Regions from separate parts of the Homo sapiens genome. Here all the other regions are linked to region 3. The links are contacts of gene promoters, found by promoter capture Hi-C in blood cells and fetal thymus (Javierre and others, 2016). All regions are on one chromosome and are shown on one strand. Each heading gives the region's core, a stretch centred on a gene start or on the middle of the fragment in contact. The rest is flanking DNA. Distances are from core to core; before and after follow the strand shown. Region 1 has its middle 79 kb from the start of BET1. Region 2 has its middle 97 kb from the start of BET1. Region 3 holds the start of TFPI2 (tissue factor pathway inhibitor 2). Region 4 overlaps LOC130890646 (a long non-coding RNA gene).

Region 1 (3,451 bases), core at 212-2,711, 190 kb before region 3:
CTGTAGTGGAAAGGTCAGTAATGTAATCTGTCATGATCACAACTCCTTTCCAAAGGGGTTCAAGAGTTATTTACAGGTGATTGCTTATATAGTTGGCCATGTTTTGTACCACATGACATTGAATTATTCTTCCACACTAGGCCCATGACCTGTGATCAGGTCAGAATTTGAACATGAACACCTAATTTCAAACTGGTCTAGAGTTGTGTGCCATGAACAGTGGTGGCAGTGTGGACTTTGGCAGCTGTAGAATAATATCTGATGAAAGAAGTGGCCAAGAAGAAAAAAATATCAAAATGTGGCCATAGGGTTCTTCCACCATGACAGTTGCTGCAGCTTGTGGCTCAGCACTGGATTGGTCTCATGGTGGACAGGCCTCCTAGTGAGCCAGTAGATGGAAGGTTTAACTCATGCACTCAAATAGTAAGAATCTACAAATATCCCTGAATTGGGAATGAAAGCGTTTTAAGAATGAAACAGCATGAAAATATAGAATCTGATAGAATCTGAAGTTTAAATAAAAAGTAAGTAAAATATTAAATAGAACAGTAAGATCTAATATCCATTGGTGTTATTAAATGCAATTGATGATCAAACTTTCACTGCCTACTATTTTATTTTAGACCTTGAAAAGCATGACAGATTCGAAAGTTAATTATGAAAAGGGAGGGAAACATCATCACAGTCTTTGTGTGCTTATCTTTATCCACCACAGCAGTTGATTAGCACTGCTTTATCTGAGGATGTTACAATGCAGACACATCAACAAAGCTCATTTATTAATTCTGTTAATGAAATTAGATTGTCAGAGCTTGTTTCTAAATTTTTGGATCAAAGCTGAATATTAATAAGTAAACAGATAATTGAAAATAGAGGAGTGCCTGCTCTACAGAACCCCCCATTCTCACCCCTCCACCATCTTTGAACCTGTAACATTTACTATATTTGCTTAGGTCACCTATACTTGGAGGACCTTCTATTTATTTGTTGTATGGGAAGCAGATGCTTTCTAGTGGGACAGTCAATCGCAATGTCACTCCTACGTGCTTCTTCATTTTTCTTTTTGCTCTTCCCCTTCATTATAGCTTGTCTCCAACAACACTGGTCTCCTCACCATTCGCTAAATACAATTTGTTCTTCTGCTTCTATGTTTCCATTCATGTCATTATTTCCAAAAAGAATGCCCCTTCCTTCCAATTCTCATCCTCAAGTCCTACCCATCCTTCAAAATGCAGCTAAAAATGACTTAATTTGGCCCCCAGAGCAGGATATGATCTTGTCCATCTGGGGTCATCCAAAAAAGTTATTTTCAAAGTTTGGTGTATATAAGAATCACTTATAGAGCATGTCACAAATGTAGATTCCTAGGCTTTACTCCTAACCTTTCTGATTTAAACAGATCTTGGGTGTGGCTCCATAAACTTCATTGTTTTTAAAAGTATCACCAACTAATTCGGATGCACTGTTTGTGGACCATTTCTTAAAAGGATTGTATAAGCCAGACACCTGACACCTTGTGTTTATTGTTTTACATTTTCTATTTGATTTGGATCTTAAGAGATAAAATGACATCATTAAATATTTTCAGAACAAATAAATGAAATTTCGCCGGCCAGGAGTTCAACCATCATTTGCTCTGTGAACAGCAGCAGGCAGCTGAAGTAGTAATCTTCTCAAAATCAAAGATTCTCAAATCCCACTGTAAAGGTATCTACCAGGTGAAAAGGACAACATTAAGTAACATCATGCACATCGGTGGTTCTTATCAATGTCCACTGAGTGGTCTTGACCCTTGATAAAATTTTCACCACTCTATCTAGAAAAGCAATAGGGCAATAGGATACATTTTTAACAAAGCGCTTACTTTTCTTTTTAAATTTAAATATGGTGTTTTATTTGGGAACTATGTTTTTCCTTTTTGTTGCTATTAAATGCTTTTTTTAATTTTCTGCATGAAATAGTAATACTAAATGACTATATTTTTAAACATCTTTACTTAAAAAATTTGCCTCTATAATAGACCCCGTTTTTAAAAAATGACCAGCTACTACTGGTCAGTAAAATGATAAAGTCCAAATACCTCTTAACTATGCATTAATTCCAGCATCTCCATTCCAAAGTGCATCTCCTTTTCCTAAGACTCTGATATGTGATGTATGGTGCAGCTGCTGGGTCTCTGTATGATTTTTCAGCAAACCCTCTGCAGACAGTGCTATGAGGAATAGCTCCACTTCCTTGAGGAAACACTCTACCCTCAACATTGACTTTCTTGAGGACATTCCAGACCTTTGCTAAATAGCTTATTGTGATGCCTTTCAGTTTTGTTGCCTTAAGAGTGTCACTTTTTCTTATGAGATGGTGGCAGTGAATGATAGAATTTAACACCCTTGAAATAAATTGATACACCCCTGTGATGCTGCACAAAGGACAGAAAACCACAAAGTACTGGAATTCAAGGACTTTATTTTGATTTATCTCATTTGTATTACTACATTGAGTTTATTATATTTCTACCAAGGAATAGAAGTTTATTATTAACCCTCAAGCAGTATTTCCTTGACATAGAATGATAGTGCAGCAAAGGCACTCTGAGATGTTTTTCCTCTGATGTGGAGGGAGCCATCCACTGAGTTATCTGCACTTCCTGGCTGGGAGTTGCTAACAGCTCTGTCTCTAGAACAGATCAGACCTAATGATCATAGGACATTCTCTATCCAACTGCAGAAGCCAAGCATCATTTTTGAGATAGTTTTTAAAATTCTCATTATGAAAATATAAAGCCTTGGTCCCTGTCTTTAGAATTAGAAGAAAATTTGTCACTCTTTGGGGCTGTAATTGTTTCCATAAATTGCCCATAGTTGAGACTTGATGCCAGCTAATTTACCAATACCTTCATAGGTGGCTGAGGAGTCTAAATATATGGTCTGAATTATTTGACAAACAACCATTGTCTCAGTTCCTCCAACCATGGAAAAAATTATGGTTTTTCATTAAGCATACATCTAGCTAAACTTAGTAAACTATTACTTTGCAGAGAAGCTTCGATCCTATTTTACTTAATTTGCTTTGTATTAAAATTGTTCAATTAAACCCAGGAAGAAAAATAAGGTGTTCCTCTAGTGTTTATATAAAAACCATTATTCCAAATGAGTTTCTGTATGAATATACGTAGTATTTTGTCAAAAATTAATAGTTTTGACTTGAAAAAAATCATAGTACTATATATTAATTATCCAAAGCAGTGGTTTTATTTATGACCTCTTTGACACAGCTTTCACCTTAGTAGTCTCAACCCCAGAAGCCATGAAGAAAATAGAAAAGGAGCTGAATGTAGGTTTTCAACCGGAACAGTGGTTAATTACTTCTGTTCTACACTATTTGTGCTGTATGGTCAGTAACATGCTAATGAGTTTCAATTAAGTTACCTTTGCAAAACTGAATTGCCTTTGCA
Region 2 (3,519 bases), core at 517-3,016, 210 kb before region 3:
CCAGGTATATAGAGAACACTTCAATAATCTTTGCAAAATTATTATTAGGTATCTTCTATCGATTGTGATTTGCCAGGAAATAAACCAAAAGATAACATTAATGTTTAGTAATGTTAATTACACCTGGTTTCTGGTTGAATTATTGTTCCTTTTTCTACATCATTATTCTTTGTTGAAGTAGGAGGAATGGCTGTCCTGTGCATTGTAGGACATTTACAAGCAACCCTGGCCTCTATCCACCAGTAACAATCCAACCATCCAGCTCCCTCAACTCCAGCTGTGACAACCAAAAATGTCTTCAGACATTGCCAAATGTCCCCTGGATAGCAAAATTGCTCCAAGTTGAGAACCATTGAATTACATGATTATTTCTTCTCACTCACTTTATAGTTAACAGTCTCACATAAATATTTTAATTGTAAACTACTCTGAGCATTCATGTAAGTAGAGTTGTAAATTGTAAACATATTGGAACAAAGACAATTATGACTTTATTAAAAATTCATTAATATTCAGAAATGGATTGAGGCTTTATATAATAATCAACAGATTCCAAAATAATAGTTTTTCACTTCAACGCGAACTTTTTGAGATCTATGAAATTGCTTGCCCTCCTGAGCTTGTTTTCTTGTCTAAAAATTTAGCTAGGATTATCAACAATATTTCAAAAATGTATCATAGTTCTTTAGTACATGACTGTGTCCGGAATTGGTGGGTTCTTGGTCTCACTGACTTCAAGAATGAAGCCGCAGACCCTTGCGGTGAGTGTTACAGTTCTTAAAGATGGTGTGTCCGGAGTTTGCTCCTTCTGATGTTTGGACGTGTTCAGAGTTTCTTCCTTCTGGTGGGTTCGTGGTCTCACTGGCTTCAGGAGTGAAGCTGCAGACCTTCGCAGTGAGTGTTACAGCTCATAAAGACAGTACGGACCCAAAGAATGAGCAGCAGCAAGATTTATTACAAAGAGTGAAAGAACGAACCTTCCACTGTGTGGAAGAGGACCCAGGGGGTTGCCACTGCTGGCCTGGGCAGCCTGCTATTATTCCCTTATCTAACCCCACCCACATCCTGCTGATTGGCCCATTTTACAGAGAGCTGATTGCTCCGTTTTACAGACAGCTGATTGGTCCGTTTTACAGACAGCTGATTGGTCCGTTTTGACAGGGTGCTGATTGGTGCGTTTACAATCCCTGAGCTAGACACAGAGTGCTGATTGGTGTATTTACAATCGTCTAGCTAGACATAAAAGTTCTCCAAGTCCCCACTAGATTAACTAGACACAGAGCACTGATTGGTGCATTTACAAACCTTGAGCTAGACACAGAGTGCTGATTGGTGCATTTACAAACCTTGAGCTAGACACAGAGTGCTGATTGGTGTATTTACAATCCCCGAGCTAGACACAGAGTGCTGATTGGTGCGTTTACAATCCTTTAGCTAGACACAAAAGTTTTCCAAGTCCCCACTAGATTAGCTAGACACAGAGCACCAACTGGCGCATTTACAAACCTTGAGCTAGACACAGGGTGCTGATTGGTGTGTTTACAAACCTTGAGCTAGACACAGGGTGCTGATTGGTGTATTTACAATCCCTGAGCTAGACACAGAGTGCTGATTGGTGCGTTTACAATCCTTTAGCTAGACACAGAGCACTGATTGGTGTGTTTACAAACCTTGAGCTAGACACAGAGTGCTGATTGGTGCATTTACAATCCCTGAGCTAGACACAGAGTGCTGATTGGTGCATATACAATCTTCCAGCTAGATATAAAAGTTCTCCAAGTATCTACCTGACTGAGGAGCCCGGCTGGCTTCGCCTAGTGGATCCCGCACTGGGGCCACGGGCGGAGCTGCCCACCAGTCCCGTGCCACGTGCCTGCACTCCACCATTGGGCAGTGGATGAGACCAGGTGCATGGAGCAGGGGGCGGCACCCATCAGGGAGTCCGGGGCCTGGCGGGAGCCCATTGAGGGGGGTGGCTGAGGCCCCATGAAAATTCGAGTGTGGAGCAGGCGGGCTGGCAGTGCTGGGGGACCCAGCACCCCCTCTGCAGCTGCTGGCTGGAGTGCTAAGCCCCTCACTGCCCAGGGCCAGCGGCACCAGCTGGCCACTCTGAGTGCAGGGCCCACCAAGCCCACGCCCACCCGGAACTCACACTGGGCTGCGAGCGCATGCACAGCCCCGATTCCCGCCGGCGCCTCTCCCTCCACACCTCCCCACAAACAGAGGGAGCCGGCCCCGGCCTAGGCCAGCCCAGAGAGGGGCTCCCACAGTGCAGCAGGGGGCTGAAGGGCTCCTCAAGCGCAGCCAGAGTGGCGCCGTGGCCTGAGGAGGTGCCCAGAGCGAGCAAGGGCTGCCAGCACACTGTCACCTCTCAATAGCATGTGTAATCTGTGCATGGATATTACAGAAGATAACATATTACATAGAACTGGTGAAGTGAAGGGCAGAAGAAAGGAATCATAGGGTTAGTATTTGTCCTTCATTATATTTGTTTTTGTTTTTTTATTTATTACTCAGGAAAATGTCCTAAGACATCTGTCATAGCTGTGTGTTTGATGCTGGCTCCAGATAAGCATTGGTCCAGAAAAATAAGTATTTATTTATGGTATTTGAGATGGAGTTAATCTTGGATTTTTAGAGCTAGCTCTCATTAAAATTACTAGCATTTCTATTTACATTTTTTTCCTGTCTGTTGATGTTTTGTAAAGAAATATTTAAGTACCAAGTGGCTACATCTATGTGCCTCCAAATATGGGAATAAAAAATGAAAGCTATAGTCATCTAGATGTTCCTATGTTTGCATGTTTTGTTATATGTTAACAATGCTAATTAAAACCAAACAGGACAGATAATAACAGGAGGCCCCATTTTCCTACATACTCACATAAAAGAGAGCATGAGAAAATTGGAGTAATTTGAGGACATTTTATGTTTACATAATTAGAAAATATGTACTTCACTAAAATTCACTTCTTTTTTAAAAATGTCTGAAACACAGAGATACACTGTTATGTTACATTTAGGACTCTAGTATTCATTAGAATTATACTGCTTTACATAATTAGAAGGCCACTGAAAATAAAAGTAGTTTACTTTTATTCAATTAACACTAATCAAGCACATACATTATGCAGATGTTGTGCCACATGCTAGGAACCACTAAGATGAATAATTATGGTTTCTGCCTTTGGGAGTTCACAGTCCAAGCGGGTAACAGACAGTTAAGTGACTAGTGGCAGCATAAAGTGCAAAGAGGTGCATACTGTACCCTGTGAACATAGGCCATAGATGGAGGAACCAGCAGGCAGCTCTGTGTGGCTGGAGGTCACAGAGCTCAGTGGCAGGTTGTTTCAGAACATGGGCTGTAATGGTGGGCTGCAGACTTCATTCCTTAGAGAAAAAACAAAGTGAAAGTATTTTCTTCAGTTAACATTTGCTAGAGTTATACAAAAGCGGGATAGTAGTTATAGTACTTTTTTGCTGCTTTTATTGTAACAAAATAAATCAAGTTTTTGTTTT
Region 3 (3,291 bases), core at 615-3,114:
TGCAAAATACCTCAGATTATTAACCCACTTTGAGCAAGTGTGTCCTATACTTTTCAGGGCTTCCTGAAAACTTGAAAGAGAACTTCTGTAAACTACCCCCAGTATCCTCAGAAGTCAAGAATAATTATTTACTTGAGAATGTTGAATACAACAAGAGAAAAGGGGAAGGGAAGACAAGTATATTAAAATGTCTTCAAAAATATCTTTAATATTTTATGTAAAATTTCACTGTAGGTAATTGTTTGTATTAAAAAAAAAAGTGGATCACAAGCTAATATGTCAAAGGAACAGGGAACTTTAATGGATGCACTGACATTAGGAAATGTGTGGGAATACACTGATCTGGTCAAATCTTCAGAACTCCCCAAGGCTATCTCTCTGGGCTGCTATGGTTCTTCTCCAAAAACATAGATACATACAAAAACATAGCTTCATACATGCTTGGTTGGGGTGTAAAATGGTACAATCATCTTGAAAAAATCCTTTGGCAGTGTCTAACATTTCTAAGTATTTTATCCAAGAGTAATAAAAATTGCAGGTCCACACAAAGCAGCTTTTTTCATAAGAGCCCCCAAACAAACTAGAAACAACACAAATTCCAGTAATAAGACATTTGTGATATATTAGAATATTACTCAATGATTTAAAGGAACAGACTATTGATACACACAGCAACATATTTATACATTGTGGGATATTCATACGTTTTGGTAAATTCATACCTTGGACTACGCAGGAATTAAAAGAAACAGACTATTGATGCAGTGACCTGGGCGTATCTCAAAAACAGGAAGTGTGAGAAAGAAATACTACACAGTGAATACTTTATAATTCCGTTTATATGAAATTCAAGAATAGGCAAATCTAATCTATGGTAATCGAAATGAGAAGAGTGTTTGCCCCTGGCCTAAGGATGGAAGGATTGATTTAGGAAAAAGTCTGCAGGAGCTTTCTGGAGTGATGGAAATGTTCTAACTCTTTTTTTTTTCTTCTTCTTCTTCTTTTTCTTCGTTTCGAGACGGAGTTCCACTCTGCCGCCCAGACTGGAGTGCAGTGGCGCCATCTGGGCTCACTGCAGCCTCCGCCTCCTGGGTTCAAGCCATTCTCCTGCCTCAGCCTCCCGAGGGGCTGGGACTACAGGTGCCCGCCACCACGCCCGGCTAATTTTTTGTGTTTTTAATAGAGACGGGGTTTCGCCATGTTGGCCAGGCTAGTCTCGAACTCCTGATTTCAGGTGATCCACCCGCCTTGGCCTCCCAAAGTGCTGGGATTACAGGCGCGAGCTACCGCGCCCAGCCAAAATGTTCTAATTCTTTATTGGTGGCTACACAGTTGTCAAAATTTATCAAACTGTCCACCTACGATATATTATAAGCCTGTATTAAATGTAAATTAGAACTCGATTGAAATCTGTGTGTATAAATATAAATATACACTTATTTACATTTCTAATCTAATCTGAAGGTCCATTGCAACGAATCCCGCTCCGCTCTGACCCAAGAACTCCGCACTTTCTCTCCACCAGCCTTTCAAATACCTGAACTTCATGCCTTCAAGAGGTGGATTCCGGCTTCTTTACAGCGCAATCACTAGCAGGTCATTTCCGTCTAGCTTGCAGATTTCCCATTACTGACACAAACGCTCCCTCAGGGCGTCCCCGTCTGGACTACAGGAGAAAGTTTGGGAGGCAGGTTCAACTTTTCAACTTGGCGGGGAATTCCTCTCCCTCTTACACAGTTTGCAGCGCGGGGGCGGCGGGGTGACAGTCCCCGTGCATGAATCAGCCACCCCTCAGGCTCCGCCCCGGCGGGGGTCGGCCGGACGCTCGCCCCGCATAAAGCGGGCACCCGGGCCGCCTGGAGCAGAAAGCCGCGCACCTCCTCCCGCCAGGCGCTTTCTCGGACGCCTTGCCCAGCGGGCCGCCCGACCCCCTGCACCATGGACCCCGCTCGCCCCCTGGGGCTGTCGATTCTGCTGCTTTTCCTGACGGAGGCTGCACTGGGCGATGCTGCTCAGGAGCCAACAGGTATCTGGCCGCTCCAGGAGCTTCTCTCCCCAACCGGCGGAGAGGGCGCAGCGGGCCATGGGGCCCCGTGTAGGCGCCCTCCAAGCCTCGCTTTCTCCAGGTCCCTGCCGCGCGCTCCGCTGGCAGGGGGGACTCGCTCCCAAGTTTGCACTTTCTCTGCAGAGGCCCCTCCGCTCGGAAGGGGACAGAACTCCCCGGGATGTTCTTTCCTCCTAGGAGCTACGCCTGACCACTTTCCCTCTCTTTTGCTCTCCTTCTGCCCCTTCTTCAGGAAATAACGCGGAGATCTGTCTCCTGCCCCTAGACTACGGACCCTGCCGGGCCCTACTTCTCCGTTACTACTACGACAGGTACACGCAGAGCTGCCGCCAGTTCCTGTACGGGGGCTGCGAGGGCAACGCCAACAATTTCTACACCTGGGAGGCTTGCGACGATGCTTGCTGGAGGATAGAAAGTAAGTGCCCTGCGCGCACCCAGGACTCTCGCGCTCCTTGCGCCGGCGGCTGGTAGCAGCTTCGCCAGTTTCCCACGTCTCGCTTTCTACAGGAAGTTTTAGCCTGGGTTTTCTCAAGTGTTAAGCAAACCTCATGGTTTTCAGTTTCTTAAAAGTAATCACAAATTTACAACCACTAACACATTTCCTGTCTCCCAACTGACATTGATCATAATTCAGTGCCTGTGCGGACTCAGGGAAAGATTTGTTCCCTCACCATGGGGTATAATAAATGCAAGAGAATAACGTGTTAGGTACAACGTAAGTGCTTCTCTGTATTTTTCATTAATTCCAAACCTATGATTTTTATCTCTCCTGGAGTACATCATTTCCTTCTGTCGATTATCCATCAATCTGAAATATTTTTAGTGGATTTTATTATTGAAGTGTGACTTAGCTCATTATATAACTCTACTTTTGTCCCGATACCCAAACATGTGTTGGATTAGTTGCGGGACATGGTGGAGATTCATAATACTGTTATATTTTAATTTATTTTTAATTTTTAAATTATATCGGTTAAGGCCTGTAAGAGAACATGGGGCTTTTCCATTCAAGGAACTGAGCCAGGGGAAAATGCGTATTCATGTGAATAAGCTTTGATTCACTGCATATGTACAATCAGAGAACACCCAGAGAAAACAGAGAGTCTTTCTACTGAACTTGAAAGATACATCACAGCTGAGTCAGCTCTGAATACACTGTTAGAAAAAAAAAAAGTAAATATCTGGATTCATGGGAGTATTCTGGGTATTTACTATCCCAACACTAA
Region 4 (3,192 bases), core at 352-2,851, 150 kb before region 3:
TAAGAGGGAAGTAATATTAGTGGCTCCATCATTTGAATAAAACAACCCTTGCTATAGAGAGGCGCTACAAGATCCTCTATAATCAAATAGCAAACCCTGGATTCAAAGCTACCTCTACTGCTTTCCAGTGGTCATATCTGATACCCATGGTGTGTGCTTAGAAAGAGGAAGTGAAGATGTACTTGAGTAGCATTCACTTTAAGTTAAGGCATCATTATCTGTTTGGGCTGCTGTGGAAACATCCTACTAATATCTGTTTTTACCTTCTATATTTAGTATCTATTGCTGCACAACAAATCATTCCAACATTTAGCTGCTTAAAATAACAAATAATTATATTCTCACACAGTTTCTGAACGTCGGGAGGCCAGGAGCCATTAAGCTGGTTTGTTCTAACTTGGAGTCTGTCAAGATGTTGACAGAGGCTACCATCATCTGAAGGCTTGACTGTGGCTAGAGGATTTGCTCCCTAGTTGGATCACATGGCTGTTGGAGTTCCAAGCTTCTTGCTAGAAGTTTTTAGTTTCTCATCACAGGGCAGCTAGCTTCCTCCAGAACAAATGATTAAAGAGAATGTGGTAGGGGCTGCATTGTCCGTTTTTATTAGGAGTGAATCACTGAACCCATCCACACTCAAGAGAAGAATTATACTCCAACTATTGAAACAAAGAATATAAGAGAATTTGTGATCATACTTTAAAACCACCACACCCTCTCTTTAATCAGCTCTACATGCTGCAGTTATTTTAATATTTTATAAACAAATCTGATCATATCTCTTTTTATTAAACGTTAAATGTATCTCATTGGTTTGTAGATTAAAAACCCAATGTCTTTGGTCCTACTTGATGTGGCCACTGCTTCCCAACCCTGCCTTTGTCATCTTCCACTCATCTTTGGCTTTCTGGCAACACTCTCTTGCTTTCAGTTCCACCAATATGCCAAATTCCTTTTGGTTCAGGACCTTTGCACCTGCTGCTTCTGTGGCCCAGAATTATCTTGCTTTTGCTTTTACTTATTCATCAGGTCTTGATCCAAAAAAAACCATCCCTCAGGAAAGCTTCTGTGACTCATAAGCCTTTATCAGATCCCCAGCTACAAGTTCTTCTTGTAGCTTGTACTTCTCCTCTGTGCCACTGATTATAGTTTACAGTGTTATATTTCTTTGATTTTTTGGTTATGGTTTTAAGTTTCTGTTTTGCTCACTATTGAATCCTAGTGCATGGTACAGGATATGGCTGGTATTAGTGTTTAATAAATGTATCTGTACTGAATATGCTACTATGAACGGAGGATGAGTTGATGGAACAAACACATCTGCTTTAAGATCCACTTTAAGAGTAGGCAAGTACATCTTTCTCTCTTATTTTTAATAACGACCTAAAGAAAAACAAACCTTGATAAGATATGCCAACAATGGGGGAATCAACAGAGGAAAAAAAATTAGAGGAAGATAAGGAAGGGATGTATGTAATCAGAACTCTGCTGTGGTATCTCAGAGCTGGCTAGCTCAGTGAAGAGATGCAGCCCTAATCTTAATGGCATTGATCTGGAACAGCTTGGACTCAAACTTTAGAATATATCTGCACATCAGGGTGGCTCCACAGGTGGAGGCTTACTATGCTTTAGAACTTTTATTCTGATGTTTTTCTTCATCAGCTGCCCATGATCCCATCATCCACAAATAATCTTAAAAAATGCACACATGGCAGTGTCTGGGCAATAGCCCATGGGTAAAAGCAGTACCTAGAGAATTACTTCTTTAGTTTCATCCTCTTTGTTAACATTTCCCTAGGGAGGCTCCTGGATCAGAACCATCCTAGGATTTGGCGACTCTCTTCCAATAGGTACAGGCTTCCGGGTGAGAGTTGGAAATTGTCCACAGCTACTCATTGTGTCGTCAAACTCTTTGCACTTGCAGGGACTAAGATGCCTGCATTTCTGAGGTTATTCACATAACAAGTGAGAAACAAAAACAGTTTGTTGGGAAATGAGTTCAGTTCCAGCAGCACAGCTCTGAGCCTAGAGATAAAACAAAGCTGCTTCTAAGAATAAAAGCAAATTCCGTGTTTTTCTCATTATGGTTTCTCCTGCATGAGTCCCTTAAAACCTCTTCTGTTGTGTCCAGGACTGAAAGCTTCTAGTGATCCGACTGAGTCTCTCTAATTGGGTGGTTGTAGTTCATCCTATTTTTCTTTAAAAAAATAAACTCATCAGCACTATAGCCTCAGGGGTCCATAAGGAACATGTTTATAGAGAAGAAGTTTTTGTGTTTATTAGCATGAAACAAAGCCCATTACACAAAAGCCTCAGAAACCCACTCTAGCCTCAGCAAGCTGTGGTTTCAAACATGAGCACGTGCTGTCACAAGCCATAAATCATTGCTTGTGACAGGCCCACAGGGCCCTGAGAAGGCTGTCCCTTCACTCAGCTAGGCTATTTGAGTCAGGGGAGCTTTAAAAAGACTACCTCCAAAAAATCACAACCATTCATTTTGGATTGAGGCTGTAGAAAGGACATTTCCTTCCAAGAAGGAATTTTTGAAGCACTTACTAACTTACTATCTGTCTGGCATATGATAGGTAATACATATGTATGTATGTATATATGGGGTTGAAATGAGTTTCTTGTTTTACGGATGAAGTCACTAGGTACCGAGAGATTAAATGGCTTGTCCCGGGTCACACAAGTAAGGGGTGGAATCAAAGTGTAAAAAAGGGGCTATCTAAACCCAAAGCCTCTCGTTTTCCTACCACAGTGTATATCCTCTTAATATAAGTCGAAGTTTGCACAAAAGCCTCTTTAGAGTCTCACTCTAAATACGCAGATGGAGAAGGAGAAAGGGGGCAAAGGAGCAGCCGACCTGGGTTTGGGTTCAGTGTCTGCTGCTGTGACAGCCTGGGTTGCCTGCCGGGCCATTTTCTTTGTGGGGATTAGGTTGGCTGCCCTGCTAGAGGAAGTCTTTATGTCAAGAACTAAGAAGAAATAATGTTGCACAGGGATAAGCCAGCAGGAAGAACACCAAATTAATTTCAACTGCTGCCAGAGGAAGAAAAGACGTTTTAGCAATTGATACCAAATGCCGACTGTTATGAGACACAGTATAAAAGCAAGTGACTTCAAGTTAAACCTGACCTGATCTATTAACAGAAACCATCAAGTAATTGCCTACTAATAGCAGTTGCCTGAAAG

Evidence for each region. The method cuts DNA at HindIII sites, captures the fragments that hold promoters and counts their contacts. A CHiCAGO score of 5 or more calls a contact.
Region 1: a contact is called between a fragment that was not itself captured here and the fragment with the promoter of TFPI2 in region 3, in 6 of 17 cell types (megakaryocytes, total B cells, M2 macrophages and 3 more). The highest score is 9.6, in megakaryocytes.
Region 2: a fragment that was not itself captured here is called in contact with the fragment with the promoter of TFPI2 in region 3 in 3 of 17 cell types (total B cells, M2 macrophages and megakaryocytes); the score reaches 6.7 in total B cells.
Region 4: a contact is called between a fragment that was not itself captured here and the fragment with the promoter of TFPI2 in region 3, in 1 of 17 cell types (endothelial precursors). The highest score is 5.1, in endothelial precursors.

What each region holds. Positions count from the first base shown.
Region 1 is chr7:94,081,468-94,084,918 of GRCh38, reverse strand. No RefSeq gene overlaps it. Among named protein-coding and RNA genes, the nearest start is that of BET1, 79 kb to the right of the region's middle. The HindIII fragment of the contact is 3,160 bases long and covers 1-3,041 here.
Region 2 is chr7:94,099,576-94,103,094 of GRCh38, reverse strand. No RefSeq gene overlaps it. Among named protein-coding and RNA genes, the nearest start is that of BET1, 97 kb to the right of the region's middle. The HindIII fragment of the contact is 3,875 bases long and covers 1-3,519 here.
Region 3 is chr7:93,889,326-93,892,616 of GRCh38, reverse strand. TFPI2 (tissue factor pathway inhibitor 2) reads left to right here and starts at 1,864. Exons shown (of 5, transcript NM_006528.4): 1 at 1,864-2,026; 2 at 2,298-2,480. The coding sequence starts at 1,939. It overlaps TFPI2-DT (TFPI2 divergent transcript), which reads right to left and starts at 1,723. Exons shown (of 2, transcript NR_134235.1): 1 at 1,538-1,723. The HindIII fragment of the contact is 7,194 bases long and covers 1-3,118 here.
Region 4 is chr7:94,039,565-94,042,756 of GRCh38, reverse strand. The region is part of intron 1 of LOC130890646 (a long non-coding RNA gene); the gene reads right to left. Among named protein-coding and RNA genes, the nearest start is that of BET1, 37 kb to the right of the region's middle. The HindIII fragment of the contact is 1,077 bases long and covers 1,063-2,139 here.